Regions from separate parts of the Homo sapiens genome. Here regions 1 and 3 are each linked to region 2. The links are contacts of gene promoters, found by promoter capture Hi-C in human tissues and cell types (Jung and others, 2019). All regions are on one chromosome and are shown on one strand. Each heading gives the region's core, a stretch centred on a gene start or on the middle of the fragment in contact. The rest is flanking DNA. Distances are from core to core; before and after follow the strand shown. Region 1 overlaps TRIM16 (tripartite motif containing 16). Region 2 holds the start of ZSWIM7 (zinc finger SWIM-type containing 7). Region 3 overlaps TVP23C-CDRT4 (TVP23C-CDRT4 readthrough).

Region 1 (3,523 bases), core at 237-2,736, 330 kb before region 2:
CAAGGAAAAACACTCAGGAAGAGGAATAAACTAGCACACGAATGAACTGACTGGGCCTCTAGATTCACTGAAGTCGTGCTCTTACACAAGGTTACTTCTGTAGTCAGCATGTAAGATGAAAACAGGGCAATACCAATATTGTCTTTATAAATCCTTGAATTTGCCCATAAAATACACCTAGTTTTGTGTATAGCTCTGATAATAACTCATGAATAGATAAATATAGAATTTTATATAGGTGTGCAAAACATAATTTTATAGTATTCTTAATTACACTAATTTATCTTTTGGTTTGGGGGGATATCTTGGTGCATATGGGTGAATTCTTGTTAAGTAAAATATAAGTATGAGATGATTTTTCCTGAGATGTTTATCTCAAGCCACTGTATTTTGCATAGATGACTCTTGGCAAAACATACCCAGCAGTCATCAAATATACGATATATATCTAACAGGTCAAAGTTCCTAGAAGAATGACTTTTCATTGAAAAACTCTATTTCACGTGATTTTTTTAACCGTATGCAAGTATTATTTTGTGTAAAATCAGCAACGAAAGCCCTAAACAAAGATAGGTTTCCCTCATCATGATGATAATGATGTTAAAATCATGATCCCTGATGATGTTAAGATTGAGAATAAGGCCGGATATTAGTATCAAACCAAAATTGTCATGTTTCATAGGCATATGTGAGTGATATAAATAGTAAGTAAGCAGCACTGGTATTCAGAGGAGGAGATTATTTTCAGTTACAGTGGCCAAGAGGTGAGGGTGGAGGTAATACCTTAAGCTGGGTCCTAAAGGAGACTAACTTGCAAAATGAAAAGAGTGATAACGTGACAACTGCCTCTTAACTTAAAGAAAACCTAAAAAGTATTAATGCCTCCTCCGAAAAGACAGAAAGCCCTACTTTAATCACTAAATATCTCTTCCTGCAATCCTCAAATCAAGCCTGGGGTCACCCTAGTTAGTTTATCACAACAGTGCAAATTATTCAGGATAATTTGCTTGGAGGAATTAATTTAACATATAAATTAATTTTCCCTTCATTGGACACATATCAGCCAAGCATACAGGCAATTTTAACATATAAGTTAGAAAATTAGACACTCATGATTTAAAAACTAAAGAATCCAGATTACCTACCAAAAAGAGATCAAAATATCAGAACATTTACTATCTAAAGCCCCAAATCAAACCCCCACCCCAGACTTTACCACAACCAAACAAACACACTGAGCTTTAGCTTAGGTTGTAAAAGGAGAGGAATTATATTCTCCATCATGAAGGGTAAGTGTGGTCTACACTACAGCCCACGAAAGAGAACCCTGTTATAGAAATATCCAAATGCTGGGCGTGGCGGCTCATGCCAGTAATGCCAGCACTTCAGGAAGCTAAGGTGGGCAGACTGCTTGAGCTCAAGAGTTCAAGACCAGTCTGGGCTATATGGCAAAACACCATCTACAAAAAATACAAACAAATTAGCCGGGTGTGGTGACGCTTGCCTGTGGTCCCAGCTACTCGGGAGGCTGAGGTGGGAGGATCAAGGATCCTGAGAGTTCAAGGCTGCAGTGAGCTGTGATGGCGTCACTGCACTCCAGCCCAGGCAATAGAGCAAAACCCTGTCTCAAACAAACAAACAAACAAACTAATCTGAGAGGAGAGCACAAGCATAGACCATACTACTAACAGTACAGTCAGAGTAAACTGAAACAAAACAAAAAAGGCTCTGTAAGTCCCAGAGTCATAATATTTCTAGAACTGTTCTGATTTCAAATATTTCATCACTATAATGTCCTCAAAATTTTAATATTTCTGGATCCAAATTATATTTAGGCTACAAGAGAATTATACCAATTCACTATAGTACAATCCACGAATTCATGCAATCCACCCATTCTAGGACAGACCTTTTGTTCAAGGACATCTGTCTTCAGTCTTTAGTTCTAAAATAAATTACCAAAGATGAGGACTCTGAAGGAACAACAATGGTTTCTACCAATCCAAAGCCAACTGGCTCCAGGAACTATGTTTGGAAATGACCTTGTTACCAATTGTTAACAAACATTACTTTAAGAAGTCTTATTCTAATGACAGACACTCTTATAGACGACCCTCCCCACCCCTTTTCAATTTCTTAAAGTTACGAAGGATTTTGGGCATTTCAAAAATTATTTCCAGATATCACCGTTTATTCAGAGTGGTCTGTCTCACCGCTAATTTTCAGAACAAAAATCCTTTCTTCTCTAACTTCAGTTGTGCCTTCTGTAATTCAAGCCCTGTTAAATTTCAAGCTGTACTAACACCGACTTCTTTAAACAGAAGAGAAGGATAGGAAAGCAGGTGAGGAGAGAGAGTTCAGAATAGCCCTTTTAGTGAGAAAAATAGAAAGCAGGGAAATCTCAGGTTCTGGCTAGTACACTGGGAATGATATGGGAAAGTCAAGGGACTCCAATCCTATACAATTGGATTACTCTCAGGTAACTGAAATGCATCTAAAACAGGAAGAAAAAAAAAAGGCAGGGAAAATAATTCATGGAAACCAAAAAAGTTACTCTAACATCAATTTAAGCTTAGGAAGATTTGAAAGAAAAAAAAAAGTTTGCATGTAAGTGTTGAGTCACAGCATAACCAAAAAATAATGCCTGGCTTTATTAGGTACACATAAAATTTCTTAGAGCCATATACAGAAATTTTCATCAGGCAGCCTCAAGTAACTTAATCTGGTGATAGTCTGATACAAATTCATATGACCATTTTTTTAAAAATGTTTTCTAAAAGTGTTGACTCAATCTTCCCTAACTCTTCTGTTGGGATTGCATAATAGTTACTATGTAAGGCTGACAGTTTCCAAGGTAAACGGTTCTTACTTTCTGAGAACTGATAGTTATAATTTCAGCCTTAAGGAAGGGGAAAAAAAAGAAAATTCTAAGAAAGGGGAGATGGAAAAAGCAAAATAGATTCCTCATCAACAGAAGACACAATAGGCCGGGCGCGGTGGCTCACGCCTGTAATCCCAGCACTTTGGGAGGCTGAGACGGGCGGATCATGAGGTCAAGAGATTGAGACCATCCTGGCCAACATGGTGAAACCCTGTCTCTACAAAAAATACAAAAATTAGCCGGGCATGGTGACGGGCACCTGTAGTCCCAGCTACTTGGGAGGCTGAGGCAGGAGAATCACTTGAACCTGGGAGGCGGAGGTCACAGTGAGCTGAGATCATGCCATTGCACTCCAGCCTGGTGACAGAGCAAGACTCCGTCTCAAAAAAAAAAAAGACACAATAACATTAAAGAGCTATTTTGAGATAAGTGAAAAAAGATTTCTGAAAAGGTAGATGTAACAGAGTTTGGCCCCATTTTTGATGTCTGGCCATTGACAGCATTTAAGTTTCCACCATTTTCTATTCTCCCCTCCCCCACACTGCCCCACCGCACACCTGGTGCTTTAGATAAAGAAATCCATGGGCATCTCCTGAGCTCCCAGCACTGGCAGGAAGCTTGAATCCCTCAAGCCCACAGATC
Region 2 (3,063 bases), core at 143-2,642:
TAATCTTTCAAGCACATATACTTAAGTCTCCTTAATTTTGACTGAGATGAGGAAACAAAGTTGGCTTATTTTTCTCAGTTCCTTAAAAACAGTAACTCAAGATAAACCCTTTCAAAATGCAGTACAGTACTTTTAAAACAAAAGCCATCCAAGTTGAATAAGCGATGGCAGTTTGGGGGCCTGATATGGCTGTTATTTATAAGGTGGCCATTTTTACATCCTAAGAGTAGTTCATTAGTCAATGCATTTTGAGTATATCAAATTTGATTTGATCTTATCCTAGCATACTCTGAACACATCTTGAGATCAACCCTTCTCAAGTGATTTTGGTGAGCATAGCCAAAGAGTACCCTCTGCTGGTCAGAAAAAAAATGGTGCTTTCACAATACCCAGATTTACTCCAACGATTGCATATGCATTTAGGTTTTGTGGCTCTTAAAATGCTTTTTTTTTTTTTTTTGAGATGGAATTTCGCTCTTGTTGCCCAGGCTGGAGTGCAATGGCGCGATCTCGGCTCACGGCAACCTCCGCCTCCCGGGTTCAAGCGATTCTCCTGCCTCAGCCTCCTGAGTAGCTGGAATTACAGGCGCCCGCCACCACGCCCAGCTAATTTTTTGTATTTTTAGTAGAGACGAAGTTTCACCATGTTGGCCAGGCTGGTCTCGAACTCCTGACCTTAGGTAATCCAACTGCCTCGGCCTCCCAAAGTGCTGGGATTACGGGAGTGAGCCACTGCGCTGGGCCTACTTTTTAAAGTGTATGGAAGCATTAACTTTAATGTTAACATCAGAATTTGAGAAAAAGAAGTTTAATAATTCAAAATTTCGTGTAAAATAATCAAGAACTCCACGTTTCTATCACTCACTGTAGGCTCCCGTCCCTTCCACCCCCGGGCGGGGACCCCTCCCAGCGACCCGGCCAGCTCTCAGCACTTCGGTCCCCACTGGCCTACTCGCTCCGACGGAGGGGCTCCTGCAACTGCGCTGTACCGTAAATATTTGCTGAATCGATTTGACTTTTACTTGTTCCAATTTCGCTTTTTTGTTGTTTTGTTTTTTTGTCTTTTTACGAACAAGAGGTTTAGAGAACCACATGGAAAAAAGGCAGGGCCAGGCCCGGACACCCCGCCTCCTGCCTCCCGGCCCGGCGGTGCCCGGATGCCCCGCCCGCGCCCATGGCGCAGCCACACACGACCTCGGTCCCGTACTTCGCGCGCTCTCCTGCACCGCCGCCGCCATCTCGCTCAGGAGCTCCTCCACAACCGCCGGCAACACTACGGCCATCGCGCCGCAGGACACGCCCTCCACGACCGGCGGACCGCCGCGACGCTCCAGCTGACTGCGCCTACCTGTGGAGGATCCTGACCCCCCGCCGGGGCAGGGCGAGACGGAGTGACGTCGGGGCGCGTCATCGCGCGTGCGGACGCAGGGATGTCCTGCTCAGTCGTCAGGGCCCGGCCAATCCGGAGGGCGCTCGGCGCGTGGTCGGGGGCCAGGAGCGCGTCTGGCCTGCAGTGCGCAGAGGACGCGGCGGGAGCATGTTCCGGCTCCTGAGCTGGAGCCTGGGCCGAGGCTTCCTGCGGGCCGCGGGGCGGCGGTGCCGGGGCTGCTCCGCGCGCCTGCTCCCGGGGCTGGCAGGAGGTCCGGGGCCCGAGGTGCAGGTGCCGCCATCCCGAGTCGCGCCGCACGGCCGGGGCCCAGGCCTGCTGCCGCTGCTGGCAGGTGAGGGGCGCGGGCCGGGCGGGGCCGGCCGGGCGGGGACAGGGGCGCGGGCCGGGCCCGATGACCTCAGAGCCCCTTCCCGCAGCGCTCGCCTGGTTCTCGAGGCCCGCTGCGGCAGAGGAGGAGGAGCAGCAGGGAGCCGACGGGGCCGCTGCCGAGGACGGGGCGGACGAGGCCGAGGCAGAGATCATCCAGCTGCTGAAGCGAGCCAAGGTGAGGCGGCTCCGGGCCCTGCGCCCGGCCGAGCGCGGTAGCCTTTGTGAGCGGGGTCTTGGCGTTGCTGCGCATTACTCTCTCCGCCTCGCCGAAGAGTGGATGGAGGCTCCGCGGGTAAAATTGCCGAGAATGAGGTGGGTCATCCGAGAGGGGATTGGAATCCATCCAGGCTTTTCCGACTCTAAGGCCTGCAGTAAAACCTCTGCAGTGTCAAGTGCAAATGGAGATGGCGCCCTAGGCATCACGCTTTATGCAAACGAAATATCGGGAACGTTTTGTAGTGGTTTTATCAATTAACCAGCCTATCTGAAATGACATAATTTCGCACGTATATAGCGGCCTGAAAATGGCAACTTAGTGTTGGTTATGCGGTTCGGTTCTCCTCCTGAATTCTTCCTTTTCTCCACATCCTTTTCTATTTTTTTTTCCTCCTCTTTTCCCAAGTTATCTCATCTCTTCCATTGAGCTAAATACCTACTCGATGCCAACAACGTCCAAATTTGTATTTCCATTCTGTAGTGTGCTACTGACATGCCATTTGCACTTTAGGACCATACCTACCTCTCAGATTTAACATGCCCAAAACTAAACGATCTTTAATGCCTCCTCAACATACGCTTTCGCCATCTCTTTACTACCATCAGTTTTTCAGCCTAAAAACCTCATAGTCATTCTTAAAACTTGTGGTACCTTACCATTGCCTTCCAATACACTTACAGTCCAGCAACAAGTCCTGTTGCCAACAAATGCAAAATATTTCTCAAATCTTTCCCCTTTTGTCTATCTCCCTTGCTGTCACCCTAGTGCAAACCATCATTGCCACCAACTATGCTCCAGTAGTCTTTCCTGGCCTCCTGGCCTCTTGCAATCTATTCTCCATGCAGAAACCAAAGCGACCAAAAAAAAAAAGAGTAAATTGGATTATGTCATCTCCTTGTCAGAAAGCTCTGAATGGCTACCCACTGCATTTATGATAAAATACAAACTCCTTGCCTTGGCTTGCAACACCCCACATGATCTAAACCAGCATATACCTTGCCCACCCATTTGGCAGTAATCCTCTGGCTCACCATCCTCCCTTCACATCTATTTCTTTGCATTTCTTCCTCAAAACCATTCTCTTCAG
Region 3 (3,108 bases), core at 477-2,976, 450 kb before region 2:
TGCACAGTAAGAGAATAAGAAATAAAAATAGAACAATTATAACAACATAATCTAATAAAAGTTATGTGAATGTAGTTCTCTCTCCTCACACAGTATCTTACTGTTTAGCGTAGCATATAGCAGTACTGAAACCGCAGAAAGCGAAACCTCAGATAATGGGGGAACTACTACACATATAACTCAATCAGAAATTTACTTTTTTAATATTTTTAAATTATATTTCAATATAAGTGACTTCCTTTGAAATCTTATGTATTTTATATATGTGAAAACTTATTCATGAGTTTATGAAAGGGGCCCATGGCATAAAAAGATTAGGAATCCCTGTATGAAGGTGATGTGGGAGGAAGAAGAGCATTCCAGATAGAGCAGCAGGCACTGATGCCCTAATGAAGAAAGTACAATCTATGGATTTATGGGACTTGGTCATTAATTGGATATGGAGTAGGAAGGAGGCAACTGATACATTTACGGTTTGCTCAAGTAAAAAAATAGTGATTCCAGGCCCCACGAAAGGGAACACTCAAAGAAGAAGAGCTTTTGGGGAGTGGAAGATGACAAGTAGTATTTTACACATGTTAAGATATAAGATGCCTGGCCAGGCATGGTGGCTCACTTGGGTTCAAGACCAGCCTGGCTAACATAGTGAAACCCTGCCTCTACTAAAAATACAAAAATTCGCTAGGGATGGTGGTGCATGCCTGTAGTCTCAGCTATCTAGGAGGGTGAGGCAGGAGAATCACTTGAACCCCGGGAGGCAGAGGTTGCAGTGAGCCAAGATCACACCACTGCATTCCAGCTTGCGTGACAAAGCAAGATTTTGTCTCAAAAAAAAAAAAAAGATTTGAGATGCCTTCAAGACAGCCACATAAAAACGTCAAGAAGACACATGGAGAGGCCTTAAGTTGTGAGGACAAACCTGAATGGAGATACAGATCTGGGAGGCAACACAGCTTACAGATCAGCAATTCAAACCAGAAGCACAGACAGCACTCCTTAGGAAGGGAATACAGGAGAAGAAAAGGAAGAGTCTTATGAGACCAAAATTCCTATGGGAGAGATGCTAAGTAAAAAAAAAAAAGAGCTGGCAAGGGAGACCTAAACCAGAGGTCTCTTCTATAGGTATTTTCAAAGAATGCTCTCAGAATACTTTCAAACTCTTCTGTTTCCATTTTCTAACTCTTTATTTCCTGCTTTTATCTTTATTAGTTTATTTTCCTGATTTCTCACACTTATTGCTTGTTTTTGAAATTTCTGGACTCAAGTAGTCCATTATTTTCCCTCTTTCTTGTCTAAAATAAAAGGCTTTAGTCTATTATTTTCCCTCTGAATTCAGTTTTTGACATATTCAGAAAGTTTAACTGTAAATGATCACCATTAAGGTATAAATAACTTATATTTACAGTTTTTGCTTCCTTTTAAACCCAAGATATGTAGTAGTTCGCTTTTTTAAAAGAATTCCAATTTCAACAACTACTTTCTATTAATTTCTAGTTCTGTTTCTTTGGAGTAGAAAATGTAGGTGCTTTGGGCAATTTTATTTTGATTTTCTTCACAGTGATATTTAGTCAATTTTTGTAAATGTTCCACAGGCATTTAACAAGAAAGTATTCTCTCTGTCATACAAAGTCCCAAATACTGCTATCAAATTGATGTTGCCAATTATTTCATTCAGATCCTTCAGAACTTATTTATTTTTTGGCACTTTGGTTTGTTTAAGATAGTAGTTTGTTAAACTCATCATAATGCTTTTCTATTTTCTAATATTTCCAATTTTTTTACTATACATAGTTTGATATAATTTTACTCTGTGAATGATCTTCACTGTGATTCATAAAATCACCTTTTTTTGTTCCTCTTAGTGCTTTCTTACTCTGATCCATATCTCATCTGATAATAATACAATGCCAAGTTTCTTTTTGTTTGAGTTGATCTTTGCCTTCTTTTATTTTTGCCTGATGTTATCTTTGCCTTCTTTTGTTTTTTCTAATGTCATTAATTTGGTTAGATCTTTTGTTTGGACTTTGATTTCTGACCAATCTTAGTATTCTTGTCTTTAAATGGGTAGTTTAATCAAATTACATTTCCTATTATAATGAATTTGCTATTACTTACATCACTTTATACATGTACTCTCTGATTTAAGCTTCCTTGACAGTTGCTTTGTTTTCCTTCTTTTGCTCTATGAACTGTTTTACTTGCTCCATCTTCTCCAATGTTGCAGAAGATACACGACTGGTTTTAAATTTTACTAATAGTTGCCATTATTGTTTTTTTTTTTTGAGATGGAGTCTTGCTCTGTTGCCCAGGCTAGAGTGCAGTGGCGCGATCTCGGCTCACTGCCAAGCTCCGCCTCCTGCCTCAGCCTCCTGAATAGCTGGGACTACAGGCGCCTGCCACCATGCCCGGCTCATTTTTTTTTTTTTTTTTTTTTTAGCAGAGATGGGGTTTCACCATGTTAGCCAGGATGGTCTCGATCTCCTGACCTCATGATCCACCCGCCTCAGCCTCCCAAAGTGCTGGGATTATAGGCATGAGCCACCGCGCCCAGCCATAGTTGCCATTAAATTTTTAAAGCCATTATTTAACCTTTTTTACTCAATTTGTCAGAGTGAAGAATAAAATAAAAACCAATATAAGCTTTAGCATTTAAGCATACCTTTAAATTATTTTCCCTTCTCTACCTCTTCTTTATCTTCATTAACATCACCTAGGGCAAGCCTATCCAACCCTCTGCCCACAGGCCTCATGCTGCCCAGGACAGCTTTGAATGCGGCCCAAGAGAAATTCGTAAACTTTCTTAAAACATTATGAGATTTTTTTGTGTGCGATTTTTTTTTTAAGCTCATCAGCTAATGTTAGTGTATTTTATGTGTGGCCCAAGATAATTCTTTCTTCCACTGTGGCCCAGGGAAACCAAAAGATTGGACACCCAGGGGTTTAGATGAAGATTGATTTTTTGTTTTTTTAGTAAGTACATTGAGATTTATAACAATTACGACACATCTCCATTTTAACTGTTTCAGAACCCTGCTTATCCCAAGTCCACTTAATAATTTCCCTATTCTTGACTTCTTAATTTTGCTTCATATCTCCATTGTTTTGCTA

What was found. Contacts are between HindIII fragments. The study calls those that stand out against the background at their distance.
Region 1: a contact is called between a fragment that was not itself captured here and the fragment with the promoter of ZSWIM7 in region 2, in 1 of the 25 tissues and cell types used here (stomach).
Region 3: a contact is called between a fragment that was not itself captured here and the fragment with the promoter of ZSWIM7 in region 2, in 1 of the 25 tissues and cell types used here (heart right ventricle).

What each region holds. Positions count from the first base shown.
Region 1 is chr17:15,671,105-15,674,627 of GRCh38, forward strand. All of the region lies in intron 6 of TRIM16 (tripartite motif containing 16), which reads right to left. Among named protein-coding and RNA genes, the nearest start is that of TRIM16, 11 kb to the right of the region's middle. The HindIII fragment of the contact is 3,095 bases long and covers 1-3,034 here.
Region 2 is chr17:15,998,312-16,001,374 of GRCh38, forward strand. ZSWIM7 (zinc finger SWIM-type containing 7) reads right to left here and starts at 1,393. Exons shown (of 5, transcript NM_001042697.2): 1 at 1,208-1,393. The coding sequence starts at 1,283. TTC19 (tetratricopeptide repeat domain 19) reads left to right here and starts at 1,513. Exons shown (of 10, transcript NM_017775.4): 1 at 1,513-1,721; 2 at 1,807-1,934. The coding sequence starts at 1,538. RefSeq lists silencers at 967-1,126, 1,477-1,866 and an enhancer at 1,267-1,356. The HindIII fragment of the contact is 22,610 bases long and covers 1-3,063 here.
Region 3 is chr17:15,548,853-15,551,960 of GRCh38, forward strand. All of the region lies in intron 2 of TVP23C-CDRT4 (TVP23C-CDRT4 readthrough), which reads right to left. The region is part of intron 3 of TVP23C (trans-golgi network vesicle protein 23 homolog C); the gene reads right to left. Among named protein-coding and RNA genes, the nearest start is that of TVP23C, 13 kb to the right of the region's middle. The HindIII fragment of the contact is 3,548 bases long and covers 1-3,108 here.